Linked DNA regions of Homo sapiens: region 1 is linked to region 2. The links are contacts of gene promoters, found by promoter capture Hi-C in blood cells and fetal thymus (Javierre and others, 2016). All regions are on one chromosome and are shown on one strand. Each heading gives the region's core, a stretch centred on a gene start or on the middle of the fragment in contact. The rest is flanking DNA. Distances are from core to core; before and after follow the strand shown.

The links. The method cuts DNA at HindIII sites, captures the fragments that hold promoters and counts their contacts. A CHiCAGO score of 5 or more calls a contact.
Region 1: a contact is called between a fragment that was not itself captured here and the fragment with the promoter of IDNK in region 2, in 1 of 17 cell types (fetal thymus). The highest score is 6.4, in fetal thymus.

Annotation. Positions count from the first base shown.
Region 1 is chr9:79,564,448-79,568,464 of GRCh38, forward strand. It overlaps LNCARSR (lncRNA regulator of Akt signaling associated with HCC and RCC), which reads right to left and starts at 3,505. Exons shown (of 3, transcript NR_184113.1): 1 at 3,185-3,505. The HindIII fragment of the contact is 808 bases long and covers 1,836-2,643 here.
Region 2 is chr9:83,621,166-83,625,459 of GRCh38, forward strand. IDNK (IDNK gluconokinase) reads left to right here and starts at 1,978. Exons shown (of 5, transcript NM_001001551.4): 1 at 1,978-2,056. The coding sequence starts at 2,007. RefSeq lists a silencer at 1,673-2,202 and enhancers at 2,383-2,512, 2,533-2,582. The HindIII fragment of the contact is 10,566 bases long and covers 597-4,294 here.

The DNA.
Region 1 (4,017 bases), core at 990-3,489, 4.1 Mb before region 2:
CAACAAATGCGTCTGCAGCCACTTTCCCCCAAATAATCTTCATTGCAAGAGATAATTTTTTCAGAAGTATTAAAAAGGGGTAAGGAAAATATAATCAACCTCAGCAGATGATCCTAATTCAAAATCCATTCCATATGACCAACTCTGAGATGATAAAATACAACATTTTTTAGAGCAGCAAATGTTTGCATTTAGGGGAAAGGGGTTTAGAGATCATACTTACCTCCCTTAAGGATAAAACACAACATAGATGAGACCAGAAAGGTTAAAGGGGTTACCCAAAGTTAGCCAGATCATGGTAGACCGTGAATTGACCCCCAGTTCTAATGAAAATAATACTAGACTTTCCAGCCAAGCGTGGTGGCTCATGTCTGTAATACCAGAGCTTTGGGAGGCTGAGGTGGTTAGATGGCTTGAGCTCAGGAGTTAGAGACCAGCATGGGCAACATGGTGAAATCTCATCTCTACCAAAAATACAAAAAATTAGCCAGGTGTGGTGGCCTGCACCTGCAGTCCCAGCTATCTGGGAGGCTGAGATGGGAAAATCGCTTGAGCCAGGGAGGTGGAGGTTGCGGTGAGCTGAGATCACGCCACTGGACTCCAGCCTGAGCAAACAGAGTGAGACCCCATCTCAAAAAATAAATAAATAAAAATAATACTAGACTCTTATGAATTATTTTCTTGTACAAAGCAGTAAGATGTTTACTTACACTTTCCTACACCTACCCCATTCCCGCACCACTCATTTCAGAAAGGAAATGCGCAGATTTTCTCCTGTAATGTCTGCCCTATAGGCTGTTGTGATAGTTAGCAAGAGTGGGAGCCTGTGGAAAGGCACGGCAAGAGCAGCTGCATAGGTGTGAACCCTGCTGTTAGTTGAAAGTAAAAGGACTAGGGCTTCAGCACTGTGCATCTCTTTGGAACTTCCTTACTGAGCCTTCAGACACTCTGAGGTCGGAGGCTGAAGGGAGTGAGCCATGCTTCCTGCAGCCATGGTAATTCTCAGTTTCAGCCTTTGCACAGTGGCAGCTGCAACACAGTCATCTCCCTGATTCACCCTCTGCCCCCATTTTTGCAATAAAACATCTGCTTGAAAAGGAGTAAACCAGGCAGGTGAGTTGGATAGTGCTCAAATTACATACTTTAATTGAATACTCATTTGTGGAATTCAGGTTTATGCAAGGTATTAAATCAGGAGGTAGGAGACAAGAGTTCTGATCTCTGCTTCAGTACTTACAAGCCATATAACCTTGGGCAAGTGACTTATTTCTGAGCCTCAGTTGATTAATCTTTAAAGTGGGGATAATAATATCTTGTTTGCTTAAAGGCAGGGGAATGAAACAGAAGCAGCTGTTAAAGATCCCTTCTAGATTCTAGAAAATTAAAGACAATGTGAGCGTTCCTCAAGTAAGGGAGTCATTTTTAGTAGTGTATTTCTTAGATATGATCTCTGTTATAGAGTATAAATAAGTTCACAGCTCTTTTTAACTATTCAAGACAACTGTTCAGACTAGCAAGAAGTCAGGGTCTCCCTCAGCTCCATTGTTGACATAAGGTGTGCCTATAAAAGTGCTATGCAGCCTTATCTTCCTCACACACTCAGCTATTTATCCCGAAGCACCCCATTAATGCCAGGATGTCTAATCCAAAAGGAGATTTGTATCTTCAATAAAGAGTTATTTCCGAATGAGAAAGATCCATACTTCCTGCCTCTGTATTGCAGCTAGTGAATTTGGGTCACTGGTCCATTCTCCTGTTGACTTCAGCTGCGTTCTAGATAGCCCCTCCCACATACACCACTGTGTCTGCACCATAATCTCCGGGAGGGAAGAGAAAGCTTCAGTGCTCCTTCTTGCCTGCAGACTTAATTAGGGATAATCTCAAAGCATTCAAATAATGTAGCGTTTCAATAAGGACAGTTATTTTGTCCCAGAAGCCTCCTTAGTACCTATGCAAATTTGTCCACTGCACTCCCAAGCCAAGTTCCCTCCCCACAAAAAGGCAACGGGTACCTACATTCCTTTTATCCATCAAGATAAGAAGGGACATCCCAACACAAAGATAGCTTGGCAGTCTTCACCACTAAACATTGAGGCAGCTGGCAACAAACCTCTACCTAACCAGACAAGTTAAGAAATTTGTCACTCTCTTTAGCATTGATGTCCTGAATCTTTTTCAATAATGAGTTTTCTGTCCAGTTCTCTCTATCTTAACATAGATGGGAGGATGGTTTCTGAGCAAGTCAATTGCAGATCTAGAAATGGATGTGCATGTCCTTGATTCTCTATGATCATTGCTGTTCTAGCTATATATTCAATGCAGAGCTTGACATTCAAACTTGCATAGGCATCCTCTTTCCAAATTAAAATGGACCCATCACTCATTAGTGGGGGTGAGGTAGTGGCAGTACCAAAGGATGTGTGTGGGAAGGGCAGCATATGTGCTTCTGTACTCTTTATCAGCTGCCCCCAATTAAAAACAATTGATAATTCTTTAATATGACAAAGGGTACTTTCTTAATCTTAGGTCAAGTATGAACGTGGGCACCTTATACCAAGTTGATATTTGTAATGATCTTGTCACTCCCTGCTTACGAGCCTTTCTCCCTCCACAATGGCTATTATAATCAGAGTAGAAAATGAAAGCTTTTATTAGGCATAAGAAGTTCAATGTGACCAGAACCCAGTGATGTAGCCATGACCTAATCTTATATTACTCTGTGTCTAGCATGTACCAGTCTTTAAAAAATGCTCACATTCACCAACACTTCCTCAAATGAGGCTTTTGAATCCACCTGAAATTTGCTTCTCAGTGATTTTTGCTTTGGCTGACTCTTTCTAGGCATTCAGGCTTCTGCTTAAATGTCACCTCCTCCAAGAAGGCTTCTATGAACTCCCATCTGAACTAGTTCTACTACTCCTGTCACTCCTTCATATTATGCAACTGTTTGTCTATCTCCCCCCATCAGAATGTAAGCTCCAGCAAGAAAGACACTTTGCTTATGTTGTTTACTGTATCAATCGGGATCCGATCAAGAGAGAAAAACAGTAATTTCAACAAGGAAAGTTCAATATAAAAAATTATTACCTATAACAGGGAATTGGATCAAAGGGAGATTGGTAAGAGGTAAAGAGAGCTCTAAATAATACAGAAATAGAGATATAAGGAACAGCTACTTACTAACCCTAGGGCTGAGATACAGCATCTCAAAAAGAGCTCCTCCAAGACACAGACACACTCTTAGGGCTGGCTGAGATCCAGACTTTGCTGGAGAGGGCACAGTTGTAACTTTCTGAATAGCAGGAGAGCCCTGCTAGAATTCTGCCTTCTGGAACTTGCTAGAAATCCACATTCCAGAACTCGTTGGAAATCCATTCTCTGGGGTTCCAAGGAAAGCTGCTGAGGGAGGTGACTCATTAGAGGCACTTGCTCCAAAGCCACCTAAGGGGCTTCTGGAGGAAGCTGCTGGCTGCTGGGTGCTGCTGCTTGCTACCTGTGCTGTAGGAACCTGCCCAGTATGCAACCAGAGCCAGGAACCAGGAAACCAAACCCTTTCCTCCTGCAATGTCTCTCCAGCGCCTTCTATTGACCTAGCTTTTTTAACAGCTGGAAAATATTTAAAGGGCTCAGATTCAGTTTCACTAGGCAGGCAATGAGGATGAATTTGGAGCTAAGAGGCAACATATTAATAATAGCCACTTTTATTGTGAAATCCCCATATTCTGGCACATAGTAGGTTTAATAAATATTTGGTGAAGTAATAAATAAATGATTTACATCTAACCAAAGTGAAAAGCATGCTTGGCATATGTCACTTCAAGATTGGAGCTTTCAGGCCTAGCTTTTAACATGAAAGTTGCTGCCAAGTGCCTCCCACATGAAAACTCTGGAACACCCCACCTACCCCCCACTCTGTGGTAGGGATAAGACAGGCCTCCAGATAACATCATAGCTTGGCTCAACAGTTAGCGAGAAGTGCAATGAGAGAAGCACAGCAGAGAAAAGGAGAAAAAGTGG
Region 2 (4,294 bases), core at 728-3,227:
TAGCTCTCCACCTTCCAATTGGGTTTGGCTGGTGGGGTTTGGCCACGAGCAGGAGATCACAGGGCAAGAGGAGGGGAGGGGAGGTTATTTATTCTCCTGATTATTTTTCTGCTGGGTCAACAAGGAATGTCTATCTCTCTCTTCCTAAGGCTACAGTCCTGTCAGACACTTCTTTCTATATGGTCTATTCTCTCTGTCTCTCTCCTTCCATTCTCTTCCCTTCCCATATAAAGGCTCCCTCTCATCAGCCCCTTTCTATTTAAGAGTGAAAACACTTCTCGGTTACTCAGATGTGGACTCTGCCCCTAGTTGCTTTTTCTGACCCTACCCACACCTGTGCTAATAGTCCCTTTGTTAAATCCTGTTCACCTGCCCCAATTTGAGCATGCTGTTTCCTGCCACCACCCTGAGCAGCACAGCAAGTTTAAGATCCTTGGACATGTCTGGGGAAAGAAATCCAAGGAGAAGAATCAGATTTTCTGCTAATCATTCTGATTTGAACATTGAAAGAAATATGAGCTTTTTTTTTTCATACTGAGCTAGCGAAGCAGGGCACGAGTTAAGAGTATTTGCATACACATCTATTCCTCTTATCAAGCTTGAGAATGCCTAGAGGGTAATCTTTTAAATGAATATTAATATGATATTAACCAGCACATGGTAGATGTTCAAGAAATGTGTATTGACCATAACTGAATTGTAAGACCTCTCTCCAAGCCTCAATTTCTTCACCTGTACAGCCCCCATCCAGATTGAAATCTCACCTACTCGGGCTAAGTATATGAAAAACAAAGGCAGTGCAGGGGTAATTGAACTATTCATTAGATAAATGCTTTTATGTCACTTTTATTGTTTTCTAGGACACAGAGTAATACCTACCTTGGTTAACAAAAGACCAAAGGAGGTGATGCCAAATGCGGTTAGAAGTGCTTTTAATCACTTTGGGAGGCCGAGGCGGGTGGATCATGAGGTCAGGAGATCGAGACCATCCTGGCTAACAAGGTGAAACCCCGTCTCTACTAAAAATACAAAAAAAATTAGCCGGGCGCGGTGGCGGGCGCCTGTAGTCCCAGCTACTCGGGAGGCTGAGGCAGGAGAATGGCGTGAACCCGGGAAGCGGAGCTTGCAGTGAGCCGAGATTGCGCCACTGCAGTCCGCAGTCCCACCTGGGCGACAGAGCGAGACTCCGTCTCAAAAAAAAAAAGAAGTGCTTTTAATCAAATAGTTCAAACGACACATAATTAACATTGTTTTAAAGCAAATGGACACTTTAAAGTGGTGCTCCTTCCTCTTAAAGCCCCAACCAGTGCTGGATTTAACAGCAGAGCCATACAGCCAAGACATATGCTGCTACGGTCAACACTCAACCCTAAGTTTGACACCAAAAGATGGCCGCCATTTATTATTGTGACAAAAGGCCAGATTACAAAACGCTGTGTACGGCCTGATCCCAGTTTTACAAAATACTCATACCCATCTATCTACGACGGGGCGCGGGGAAAGGGGAGTCGTTTTAGGAAGTGCTGCTTATTGCTGCCTGGTGTGGGAAATTATGAGTCTTATTTTCTGTTTATTCTTTTTACAAGAACATTTTTATAAATGAATGAATGAATGCTTTCCATGGGTGGATGAGGATCCGGCCTGCCAGGGTGAGGATCCTCTGGAACCAAGAGGGGCCGGGGCAGTAGAACGACAGGTGGCGGGGCTTTGGGCGGCTCCCTCCAGCCCAGGGAGACGCGAGTGCCAGGCCGGGCGCGCGCTTCACTTCCGGGAAGAGGAAAGAGGGAGGGGAGGGGAGAGGAAAAGAAGGGGCAGGAGAGAGAGGCCGGGAGGTTGGGAAAGGGAGGAGGAAAGCATGGAAAAGGGGCGCGGGAAAACGGGGAGGGCGCAGAGGGGCACGGCCCTCACTGCCCCGGCCGGGGCGAGAGCGGCTCCGCCCCTCGAGCGCCGGGTAGGCCGGGGCCGGCGGGGCCCGGAAGGCGACGGGAAGGAGCCGAGCTTGGGTTATGGCGGCGCCGGGCGCGCTGCTGGTGATGGGCGTGAGCGGCTCGGGGAAGTAGGTCCGGGAGAGGGCGGGGGGCGCCCGGGACAAGTGTTGCGGGCGCGGCGGAGGCCGGACGCGTCGCCGTCCCTGCCGGTGGACTGGGGTCTTGGGGACCCCCCACCCTTCCCTTTGCAGATGAAGAAACCGAGGCCCGCGGCTGCCGCGCCCTCTCCCCGCCCTCCAGCCTGCTCGCGGGGCGCCCATCCTGGGACCGCATCCGAGCTCCGGGTTCCCGCTCTAAGACGGGGAGGCTGCGGCGACCGCAGGCTCAGGGAGGAAGCCGCTCCTGAACAGGCGGCTGCGGGGCCGCGCAGGTGGAGGCCTAGCGAGCGGCGCGGGGCTAGGTTTCGGGGCGCCTTGTCGGGGCCAGGCGGGAGGGCGCACGGCCTCTAGCGAGAGGACGCAAACCACGGCCCAGGCTCTCACAGACCTTTGGCCATCTGGACACACAGCGGCCTCCTCCTATGAGGCCCTGGACTTCTCCGATTCAATTTTGGAAAGTGAATCGTTTTCCCCTTCCTTTCATCAGCTTAACCTGGAAGGAGACAGCGTTAATATGGAGGGTGGCTCCTGAGGGTTTGGAAAGAAAGAAGAGAATTGTGGAAACCACAGAGGTAGCCCAGTGTGCTAACCTGGAGACTGAGGAGTTAACATTTGGCTTCCTGTTTAAACCAAAGTCTAACTGTGCCCTTTATCAGAAAAGACAGCTGCTGTACCATTCGACCACAGGCAGCAAAGGACAGAACTTGATCAGCTAAAACATCATAACCTTCAAGGGCCTATAGGACCCTTCTAGAATTTTCTGAATCAGGAACGGCCCATGTTGTGGCCTGTGTAGTCAGGTGTATATTAAAGATTTACTCCAGGTAGATGGGTTTTGCTTTCCAAAATTATTGTAGGGTTCTCAGCCACAAAGATAAAAAGAAATCTTGAACTGCAATTGAAATAAAACATGGAGCCCCCAAATCCCTAGCTGCCATATGATTTGAATCAGTTGGAGAATGTAAAATCATTGCCATGGTGTGATGTAACAGGAGTGAAGAGCCCTAGGTCTTGGTTCTGTTGCTGTCTGGCTGTGTGAGCCTGGGCAGTTCATGTACCCCCTCTGAGTCTTGAATCAGATGAGGGAGGCCTAATCCCTATGATGTATAGCTTGTGATATTCATGTACTCAGTAATTATTGAGCTCAATCCTTACTCTATGTCATTGTCATATAGCGAACAGGACAGATAAAATCCCTGCCCTCAAAGGATTTACATTCTGGTATGGGAGACAGAGTAAATGAATATATGTAGTGTGTGAGTTGGTGATAGATGCTCTGGAGTAAGGGGAACAAAGAGTGCCAGGCAGAGTGGTCAGGGATGTCTCCTCTGGGGGAGTGGCGTTTCAGCAAAGACCTGCAAGACTTGAGGAACCTGCCATGTGGATAGCTGAGGAAAGGGCAGGACAGGCAGAGGGAATGGCAGGTGCAATGGTTCTGAGGCTTAGCTTCTTTTGTTTTTTTTTTGTTTTGTTTTGTTTGAGGCGGAGCTTCACTCCTGTTGCCCAGGCTGGAGTGCAGTGGTGCAATCTTGGCTCAATGCAACCTCCTCCTCCCGGGTTCAAGCAATTCTCCTGCCTCAGGCTCCTAAGTAGCTGGGATTATAGGCGCCCACCACCATGCACAGCTAATTTTTTGTATTTTTAGTAGAGACGGGGTTTCATCATGTTGGCGAGGCTGGTCTCAAACTCCTGACCTCAGGTGATCCATGCGTCTCAGCCTCCCAAAGTGCAGGGATTACAGGCGTGAGCCACCGCGCCCAGCTAAGGCTTGGCTTCTTTAAGGAGCAGGAAGGAACCCATTGTGGCTGAGTGAGGGGAAGCATGATGGGAGATGAAGTCAGAAACAATGCAGGTAAAGAGAATGTGGTCATATGCTGGCAATATTTTGAAGGTAGAGTCAGAAAGATGTGTTTGTGGACTGGATGTTGGGTGTAAGAAGACAAGAGAGAAGTCAAGGATGATTCAAGATTTTAGGCCTGAGTAATTGGAAGGAGGGAGTCGCCACAAACTGATTTGGGGAAGCAGTAGATAGAGCAGATTTGGAAGACAACCTCAGAAGCTCAGTGTGGGATATGGTGACTTGGACGAGCCAATTAGTCATCCAGTGGATGGTGGTTGGATGTCCAAGTCTGAAGTTCAGAGGAGAGGGACTTTAGATCTAACTGTGGGAATCACTGTTGTGTGGGTGTACTTAAAGATCTAAGGTGT